Regions from separate parts of the Homo sapiens genome. Here region 2 is linked to region 1. Evidence: promoter capture Hi-C in 16 types of primary human blood cells and fetal thymus (Javierre and others, 2016). All regions are on one chromosome and are shown on one strand. The core of a region is centred on a gene start or on the middle of the fragment in contact, and the rest is flanking DNA. Distances in the headings are between cores, read along the strand shown.

The links. The method cuts DNA at HindIII sites, captures the fragments that hold promoters and counts their contacts. A CHiCAGO score of 5 or more calls a contact.
Region 2: the fragment with the promoter of TCOF1 here is called in contact with a fragment that was not itself captured in region 1 in 1 of 17 cell types (naive CD8 T cells); the score reaches 5.2 in naive CD8 T cells.

What each region holds. Positions count from the first base shown.
Region 1 is chr5:151,078,107-151,083,140 of GRCh38, forward strand. It overlaps TNIP1 (TNFAIP3 interacting protein 1), which reads right to left and starts at 2,928. Exons shown (of 18, transcript NM_006058.5): 1 at 2,774-2,928. RefSeq lists silencers at 758-807, 2,493-3,162, cis regulatory regions at 2,440-3,228, 2,728-3,497 and enhancers at 3,038-3,748, 3,463-3,522. The HindIII fragment of the contact is 3,115 bases long and covers 656-3,770 here.
Region 2 is chr5:150,355,328-150,360,361 of GRCh38, forward strand. It overlaps TCOF1 (treacle ribosome biogenesis factor 1), which reads left to right and starts at 2,370. Exons shown (of 27, transcript NM_001371623.1): 1 at 2,370-2,527. The coding sequence starts at 2,420. LOC105378226 (a long non-coding RNA gene) reads right to left here and starts at 2,093. Exons shown (of 4, transcript XR_944407.3): 1 at 1,179-2,093; 2 at 241-343. RefSeq lists an enhancer at 1,388-1,557 and silencers at 2,158-2,497, 2,578-2,797. The HindIII fragment of the contact is 5,465 bases long and covers 1-5,034 here.

The DNA of each region.
Region 1 (5,034 bases), core at 963-3,462:
CAATGCCTTTCAGGTCACACTCATAGCACATCTCCCCATTTGACCAAAAGTTCCTGGAAGGCAAAGCCAGCTCCTTACGCACCTGTGCATCAAGAACACTGCATGGCACTGGGCACAGGAGTCATCAGGAAATGATGCTTGGGAGAGCGCTAGGAGAGCACTCTGGTTCTCCTCCTGCCTTCTCATCTCTAGGCCTTAATTTCCTCATTTGTGAAATGTGCCATTATTCTACTCATTCACTGAACAAACTCAGAAGAGCCATCCACCAGGCACTCTTCTCCCGCTACAGAAATACACTCGAGAGGACTAAGGAGGTCCCTGCTCACCCCCTTCTATTCTAGGAAAAGAGAAAGACAGTAAACAAATAAACACTAAAAATAACAATTTGCCAGACACTAAGTTCTATACATATGCTTTCTCATTCGCAAATAAGATTCTTTCATAGCATGATACACGTATGAGAAAAATAAAATAGTAACGTGACAGAAAGTGAAAAAAGGGGCTGCTTTGCATAAAAAGATCAGGGAAGGCCCCTCTGAGGAGCTGACATTTGAGCTGAGACTTGATCGATAAGGAAAAACCAGCCATGGGAAAAACGGGGAAAGATGTCCTGGGCAGAGGGAACAGCATGTATGAAAGCCTAAGGATGAGAACAAGCTTGGCTTGCTGGAGGGGGAAAAGCAGGCCAGCATGGTGTGACCAAATCACAGCGGGTACAGGAGTAAAACAGTAACCAGTGGGTTGGAGAGAGAGGCAGACAAACAACCTCCTACAACGCTGCCTCTCTCAAATCAGGTCGGCCTGACCCAACCAGGACATCCGGGCCCCAAGTCACAGGCAGCACTGGGGGTAAGGGTATGACTCAGACCCCACAGCTTCCTGGGGCCCCGAAAAAACTGGTGGGGGTATCCAGGGGCAGGCATCAACCTTCAGCATGAGTGCCATGCCATACCCATGGAACACCCAAGGCTGGGAGACAAACGTGGTTACATAAGCGTGTAGAACACTGCACACTCCCAGCGGCAGCTTCCAGAGGGGCATGATCACGTGCTTCCATGAAGTGCCAGTCCCTGATCACATTATTTTCCCGGGACACAGCCAGGACAGCAGCCTTGGTCAGGGGAAAGGGAACAGGGTCCAGGATTCAAGCGTTGCTAGTCTTGGGAAAGCCTTAACCTTCTCTGGGCCTCAGTTTCCTCATCTGAAAATTAAGAGTTGTTAGAAAGATTAAGTGAGGCCGGGCGGGGCGGCTCACACCTGTGATCCCAGCACTTTAGGAGGCTGAGACGGGCGGATCACTTGAGGTCAGGAGTTTGAGACCAGCCTGGCCAACATGGTGAAACTGTCTCTACTCAAAATACAAAAAAATTAGCCGGGGATGGTGGCGAGTGCCTGTAATCCCAGCTACTCGGGAGGCTGAGGTAGGAGAATCGCTTGAACCTGGGAGGCAAGTTGCCGTGAGCCGAGATCGTGCCACTGCACTCCAGCCTGGGTAACAGAGTGAGACTCTGTCTCAAAAAAAAAAAAAAGATTAAATGAGATACGGAATGTAAGCACTGTGCCTGGCACATAGTAAGCTATTAGCATTATCAGTTTTTTCACTGCCTCAGTTTCTTCTGTTGCAAAACAGAGACCACCACGGGGATGCTGAGTTTGTACTAATATTCTACCCTCCTAATACAATTCTACCCTCCTTTGTCAAGGATTTTTTTAAAACATTCTGAGTCCCCTTTTCTGACCTCTCATCAGATGCCGAATTCCCCTCTATCACACCCCATTGTTTGGAAAATGAGTAAGTGCTGATTAAATCCCATTTTGACCGTACTGTGAGAAAAAAATGATGCATTAGGAATCTACACATTTCCCTGCACTGTCATTCTGCAAGGGGGTGGGGAAGGACGTTGCTGATTCTTCTGCATCATCCACAAAAGTCCCTCCCTCCCCCTACCAAAACACAATCTCTCACCCAGTCGCACAAAATTCCCATCTGCTCCTGTACGCACAATGAATGTACAATGCACACGTGCACACAAATGTCCTACAGTGGAAAGCTCAGCCTTCATACTCCATCCCCAGAAGCACTCCTGGAAACTCATCCATCCTGCACATGCACACAAATGCCTCCAACAATGTGCATACAAAATATGTTCAACAGAAATAGTATAGTAGGAACTCTGGAGCCAAATGCCTGAGTTCATATCTGACTTTGCAACTCACAGCTGTGTGACCTCAAGCTCCAAGTACCTCGGTTTCCTAAAGTATAAAATGGAGATAATAACAATATTAATGTTTAGGATGGAAGTGACAATTAAATGAGTCTAATACACGTACAGCGTTAAGATCAGCACTTGGAAAGCGCCCAATAAAAATTATTATTTTCCTCCTCGTGACATATGTACACTGCTTCCACAACTTGATACGAAAACTCCTGACGCCGCGTAGGCAACTCGTCTCCACAGGATAGACACCCAAAGGGCCGCAGCGCCGCCCGCACCCGGAGGGTCTGCGCTCTCTACAACCGCCCCACGCCGTTCCCAGGCGTGCTACCCCGCGCAGTGCGCACGCGCGCCCCCCACCAGGCCCAGCGCCAAGCAGGGAGTAGCGGCTCAGCCCGGCTTGGCCGCTGGCGGAGACGCCCCGGGACCCCGCGCGCCGGGCCTGGGTGCACAAGCCACCTTCCCCAGCTCGCTCCCCGCCGCCACCGAGGCTCTGGACGATCTGGGCCTGGCCTCCCTTCCTCCCCTCCATCCCCGCTCCGGGCCGGCCGGCTTACCCGAGGACGGGGAGCTTGGGGACACAGCGCCCCGCTTGCTGCGTCCAGCCCCGAATCCAGGGACGGGGCAGCGGCCCGGGCAAGGCTCCGGCCCCCCGTAGCACTCCTAGGGCTCCTGGACGGGGGCAGGGCACCCGGGCCGAGGACGAGGAAGTGCCGGGGGCCTGGCCGGGCCGCCCCACCCCTGGGAAAGTCCCCGGAGACTGGCAGGCCACTCGCCCAATCGCGCCGCGCGCTCCGGGCGGGCCCGCGGCCGCCTGGGGTGGGACCGAGCGAGGTAAACACCGGCTGCCTGCGGTTCCGGGGGCCCGCGGTGTCTCTCGTCCCTTCGGCGGCCTTCCCCTCTAGGAGCGACTTCCCTGGGGCCACCGTCCCGGGCCTGCGCGGCGCCTTGCCGCACTCCCAGCGCCGGAAGCCCCTGTCGAAGGCCTGGGGCCACCTTGAAAGCCGGAATTTCAGAGCGGAGGCGAGCCACAGAGACCACCCAGCCCCTTCCTTGTGCCGAGGGGAACACAGGCCAGAACAGGGAGGGGACCTGCCAAAAGGCACGTAAGCATTTGGCCCTAAGCCAGAGCTGGAGCTCAGGCCCCCAGAGTTCCGTCCAGGGCACTCCAGGACTCTTCTTAACAAAGCTATAGAAATTCCGAGCTGAAAAGACCCATAAAGACTCTACCGCGAACATTTTTTGCTCCAGACATTGTAAAGGATTCCCAGACATCGTAAACGCTTTGCTCCAGACATTGTAGATGCTTTGCGTGCATTATTTTCTTCGCACAATCACGCTAGGGAGGTGGGTTTTACTACCTTTTCTTAAATAATATTTGAGTCACAAAAAGGTTAGATGACCTCAGTAAGGGGCTGAATCAAGATTCAAACCCGGGTGGGCAAATCCAGAGGCCGCCTTCCACCCTACCTACTTATATGTGGGCTAGATAATCCCAACAGACTGGGATTTCCTAGACCGGTAAGGAACATAAACTTGCTTTAAGGGTAGGAAAGCTTTTTAAAAGCTTATCCTTTTATTTTTAAAAAGAAAGAAAGCTAAATTTTAATTCCAAAAAGTGGAAGGTCTAACCTTGGAATAAAGAACAGCTCTTTAAACTAAATATAGCTTTATGAAAAACCTATTGCAAAAGACCCATTTCACTGGTACTGTTGAAAACTTAGTCATTGACAGGCCCTCATCCTCAAAAAGAATTAGGGGAAAGGATTTGGGGAACTGTTTAATACACACCCTCATTTTACAGAAGAGAGACCCATCAATCAACTGTGACTTCGCAATAATACACACACAGATACTTGCCCAAATTATATACCTAATCTGGGGATTCTCCTATAAGGCTTTGTAACCTCCTAGGGTTCCTTCAGTTAATTCAACGGTGTTATCAGATCTTCAAAACGATATTCATTCTAGTTTAATTATGAAAAGAATTACACTTATGCCTTGATTCAGAAGGGAGGGAGGGAGGAAGCGATGCAAACTCCAAAGCACCACTGAGTCTCACCACTGGGGGATCCTACAGAGAAACTGGGAATCCTGGCCCTGGTTTACATAGCAGCTCCCAGGCATCGTCTCCACCCATCAGGTCCGCACCTGCCAGTTTTCTTCCTGCTCTTTGTGCCTGTACTTCCCAATTCTCTTCCTGCAGGGCTCTCTTCCTATTCCCAACCCACATCTTCTCCACCCCCACCCTCTACCCACTGAAAACTAAAATCTACCTAAAAATGGCTGGTCTCTAATTACTTGCATTTTGTTTCCACACTATTTCAGCTGTTTTTATAGCATGTCTGGCCTTAGCCGGGCAGACAGTTTCATTTCTCAAAGTGTCCGCTGGGAATTCTCAAGCTTGACATAAAAAAATGGCACTCAGTCATCTTTTTGTCTGATTTCCTAGTTCTGGATCCTTTTTCTTAACAGTTCCAATTTGTGAGAAAACTCATTTATTTATAAAGTCGTGACTGCCCCCACCTCTTCCATTCTTTGAAGTCTTGGTTTGTCTTCAGGACATTCCACCCTGTTAGAGACCATGGAGCCCATAGATAACAAACCCCTATTTGACAGATAGGTAAACTGAGTCCTCTGTCTAGAAAAGGACTTACTCTAGGCCACACACATTGAGTGACACAACCAGGGCCTTGGAATCCAGGGCCTTGGCTCCCAGTCCTGTGTGCTTGGTCCACTGTACCAAGTTGTCTTTACAATGACATGATTTTTCTCACTGCCTTGCAGAAAACACCACTGTCATAAACACAGGCTATGA
Region 2 (5,034 bases), core at 1,120-3,619, 720 kb before region 1:
AGGTCCATTCTGACATTGCCTTTTCCTTCCCCTCCCATTCCAACACACCTCTGTGAAAACTTTAGTTCCTGATTAACTCTGGGAACCTTCCACTCTCTTCAACTCCACTGCCACCAGCACCCTCCCCGCTGCCCCCGCCACCTACCACCCGCCCCCCCCCCCCACATACACTGTCTTCTCCCTGGATGCCTGCCTGCACTCCTAACCCTGACTTGTCTTCCCACATCTACTCATACCCACCAGACACACTCCACTCTCCACTGGGCAGGCACACAGGTCACAGTAAAATTCAGATTTCATCCTGTACCTCTTGGGCTTACACCGTCAGTGGCTTCCAATGGCTCTTAGGATGGAGGAAAAAAAACCCTGATGTGGCCAATCCTTCACATGGAGTCTGCCCTCTGCCCACCTTCTACACTCCCCAGTCCCCCTGCTCTCCCTCCGGACTATGCTACAAAGGCCTTTTTGTGTCTATTCTCTCAGCTGTACCTTCTGCCCTAGGCCCTTTGCACAGGTTCTTCCCTCTGCTCAGGTTTCTTCTCTCTGACTCTCCCTTACACACAGTTCTGGTTTCCTCATAACCATTAATTTCTCAGGGAATCCTTCCCTAACTCCCAAGAAAAAAATAGATCCCTCCTTCCTGTTATATGCTTTCACAATAATAGCACACACGCACACAGAGAGCGCTATTGTTCAGAGCTCCTCTAAGCATTTCTGCTGAGAATTCATTTACTCCTTATGACAACCCAGTGAGGTAGAAATTATAATTATCTCCATTGTACAGATAAAGAAACTGAGTCACAGTGACTTGCCCAAAGTCACCTAGTTAATGAGGCAAAGCCAGAATTTGAACCCAGGCAGTGTGACTCCAGTGCAGCTTTTAAACACTATATTATTACATAAGAAAACACTATCCTTTTCCTTCCTGCACTTACCCGCTGTTTGTAACACTGTATTGTATGACTATTAGTTTAGTATGTGTCTCCTCCGTTAGACTGTAAGCTCTATTGGAGTAGAGACAATTCCATCACTAGACTGTAAGCTCTATAGGAGTAGAGACTATTCCATCCCCAATGGTAGGTACTCAATAAATATTTGCTCAAGAAAATGGGAAATGTTGAATGTGTACAGACACATAACATTTTCCATTCAAGTTCAAGACAAAGATAACCACATACCTGGACCTCCTAGGGTTAGGGACTCCTGCGCCCGTAAGAAACATGCTGCCCTCAGATTCTCAATGGGTCGGTGAAGTTAAGAACAGCTCACTCTAACATTCTCCAGCCTACCTCACCTTTTCCCTGCCATCCTTCCCTCAACAACTACAACAGCCTCACATTTAGTATTAATGGTATGTGCTTTGGTTTTAGCAATCTTTTAAAAACACAAAACAGGGTCAACCTCCTCGGAAAAGCCAGTCAGAGACTATCTAATGCCCTCAGAGCAAAGTCCAAACTCTGTTGGGGGTGGGGGAGTTGTAGGCCTTGTCTACTTCTTCATCCTCATGTGCCCTCATTTGTTCCCTCTTCCCCACCTCACCCCACCCCACCTGGACAGCCCAGCAGCGCAGACTAGGGGTTCTGGGTTTAGGGTTCCCAGGCAATAGCAGGGTGTTTTCTCATGCCTAGACTCATGCAGTGCCCTCTGCCAGTCCTCTCCTTTGCACCCAGCAATTTCGGGTGTCTTTATGCCTCAGCTTAGATATCTCTCTGGGGTTCGGTGCTCCTCCTTGGGGCGCCCATAGGCTGCATCTGTCCCTGACAAGGCACACAAGATATTGAACTATAGTTGCTTGGTTACGGACAGTCGTCTCTGTGAGCTTTGAGGGCAACTGCCATGTATTATGCATCTTTTGAATCCCCCTAGCCTAGCCGGGTGCTAGCCCAAGTTAGGTGCTTATTACAGATTTGTTCAGTTAGCGAATGAATCAATGAATAAACTGGCAATTCGTGTCTGGTTCATGGGCACCAAAAACCGTGCGAAATGGATAAATGAGCAGGTAATGGCAGTACAAAGTTCGGATCTAGAGAAAGATCCAGATTAGGGAGTTCAGAGATGAGTAAAACGCAGACCCAGCCATCAGAGAATTAACAAGGAAGATAAATCTCTTCAAGAAGCCAGCCGGAAGGATTAAAAGAGAGTCGTCCAAGTCCCGGCCGGCCCCGGGGGCGGGTCCCTGTCTAGCCCCGCATGCTCCGCGCCAATGGGCGGTATTGTTGATCACGAGTCTCCGCCCCCTTCGCCTTGAGGGGCGGGGCCGGCCACTCCCGGAGAGGGGACTACGTTTCCCGGCGCGCCGCGCGGCCGGAGCGAAAGAGGAGCCGGAAGTGTGGCGCGCGAGGTCTAAGGGCGCGAGGGAAGTGGCGGGCGGGGACTAAGGCGGGGCGTGCAGGTAGCCGGCCGGCCGGGGGTCGCGGGTATGGCCGAGGCCAGGAAGCGGCGGGAGCTACTTCCCCTGATCTACCACCATCTGCTGCGGGCTGGCTATGTGCGTGCGGCGCGGGAAGTGAAGGAGCAGAGCGGCCAGGTAAGCGTTCGTGGGCCGTGTGCGAGGGCCGCGTGCAAGATGTGGAGATCAGCGGCCCGCGGCCCGCGCCCCGTCCCCAGGCGACCCGGCAGGCGCCCGGAGCCGGGTCCCGCAGTGCTCGACGGCGCGGCCAGGGGTACCGGAGGAGCCGCAATCTCTGCCTTCCCACTGCGACTTCAGTTCCCCTGGGCCTCACTTTCCTCATCCGGGCAGTGGGTTGGGCCAGAAAGTGTGCTCGCAGGGGCCGAACTTTGTAATTCCCGCTTCCCTTACCTCCACGCCCTTCCTGGTAGCGGGTATTTTAAGTTTCCTAAGTCTCCCGCCACGTGGCTAGGCTCTGCGCGGCCCCCCCTGGGGCAAGGAGGTTGCTGCGAGTCTCGGGGGTGGATTGCGACCAGCCCCTCGGGGGAGCGCCTGGAAAAGGGACCCTACAGCCTCTTAGTTGAGCTGGAACTCAGGCCTTTAGCGATTGTCTGTACTGAGACGGTCAGCTTTGGTACTCGAACTCGTGGTACAGTCATTTCTTACTTGATTAATTCAACTGTTAATCCGGTACTCAGGGTGCTTCCTGGTGTTCGAATGGTGAGCACCATCTCTCAGCCCTCCTGGAGCTTACACTCTAGTAAGGTAGACAAATCAAAGAATCACAAAAGTGACTATATGCTTAGCACCGCAATAAGTGTTAAGAATGAGAGGGATGGGCCGGGCACGGTAGCTCACGCCTGTAATCCCAGCACTTAGGGAGGCCGAGACTAGCGGATCACCTGAGGTCAGAAGTTCGAGACCAGCCTGGCCAACATGGTGAAACACCGTTTCTACTAAAAATACAAAAATTAGCTGGGCATGTTGGCGCACGCCTGTAATCCTGGCTACTCATGTGGCTGAGGCACAAGAATTGCTTGAACCCGGGAGGCAGAGGTTGCAATGAGTCAAGATCGTGCCACTGCACTCCAGCCTGGGCGATAAAGCGAGACTCTGCCTCAAAAAAAAAAGAGAGATGGATGGCAGATTGCCCTGGTCAGGAATAGCTGAGGTGTAAATGCCTTGTGGTGGGAGGGAACTTGTGTACACACTGGCCTGGAGAAAGTCCACTCTCTTGAGCCCAGGAATTTGAGGATACAGTATGAGCCATGATCATGCCACTGCACTCCAGCCTGGGCAACAGAGCAAGACACTGTCTCAAAAAAAAATTTTTTTTAAGTCCATAGCAGGCCAGGTACGGTAGCTCACGCCTGTAATCCCAGCACTTTGGGAGGCCGAGGCAGGCGGATCACTTGAGGCCAGGAGTTCAAAACCAGCCTGACCGACATGGTGAAACCCTGTCTCTACTAAAAATGCAAAAATTAGCCATGCATGGTGGCATGCACCTGTAGTCCCAGTTACTCGGGAGGCTGAGTCAGGAGAATCACTTGAACCCAGGAGGCAGAGGTTGCACTGAGCTGAGACTGAGCCACTGCACTCCATCCTGGGTGACAAGGCGAGACTCCATCTCAAAAAAAAAAAAAACGTCCATAGTGGCTGAAGTGTGAAGTACAAGGGCCAGATGCCCCTGGGGAGATGGAGGCAGGGGCTGGCTGGAGTGGTCTGGTGGGCAGTTTGATCTTCCTTGGAAGAGCAGTGGTAAACCAATGGAGAGTTTTGAACTGGTGAGACAGTATCCTAAGTAGTCAGATCCCTTTGCCCTGTGGTGTAGGCTCTGCTCCTAATGCTTGCTCTCAGAACCTCCTGGAGGGACTAAAGGGTGATGGGCCCTAAGACGTTATGTATGCTTTTCCCAGTTTCTCTGAACCTCACTTGCTCTTCCTACCGCAGCTATGGTACTTCACAGATAAGGGGAGCAAGAGATAGTACCCATCTTCATTGGAGCAAAATATCCTGCCGTCATGGAGCACACATTCTAGTAGGAGCAGACAGGTGACAAATAGAAAAAGTTTAATAAGTTAATGATATAGTATATCCAATGATAGTTGGTGCTTGCTATAAAAGGCAGGCAAGGGGGATAAGGGATGTCAGACTTCGATTATAAGTAGGGTAGTCAAGGAAGTCTCATTGAGAAGGTGTCATTTGGGCAGAGACCTGAAGGAAATGAGGGAGTGAGCTGTGTAGTTAACAGGGGAGAGAACATTCCAGACAAGAAGAATAGCAAGGCCGCGTTAGAGGCAGGGTGGCCTGACACATTTGAGGACAGCAAGGAGGACACTTTGCCTGAGGTGGAGCAGAGGGAAACTGACTCTTGAAATCTTAGTGTTACCGGCTCACTGCTGGGCACTGACAGATGGTCTTGTTCAAACCAGATAGCAGCCTGCAAGGTAGGTATCGCTGTTGTCCCCATGTTAAGAAGAAATCTGAAGTTCGAAGACGTGACGAGATTAGTTCAGTCCACCCGTGCCCCACATTGCTTAGCCTCATTAGAGTACTTGATATCCTGGCTTATTGACATTTACAGAGACATTGGGCCCTCTGGCCTCTGCTCCAAAGGCCTGGATTCCACCTGGTTCCCTCTGCTT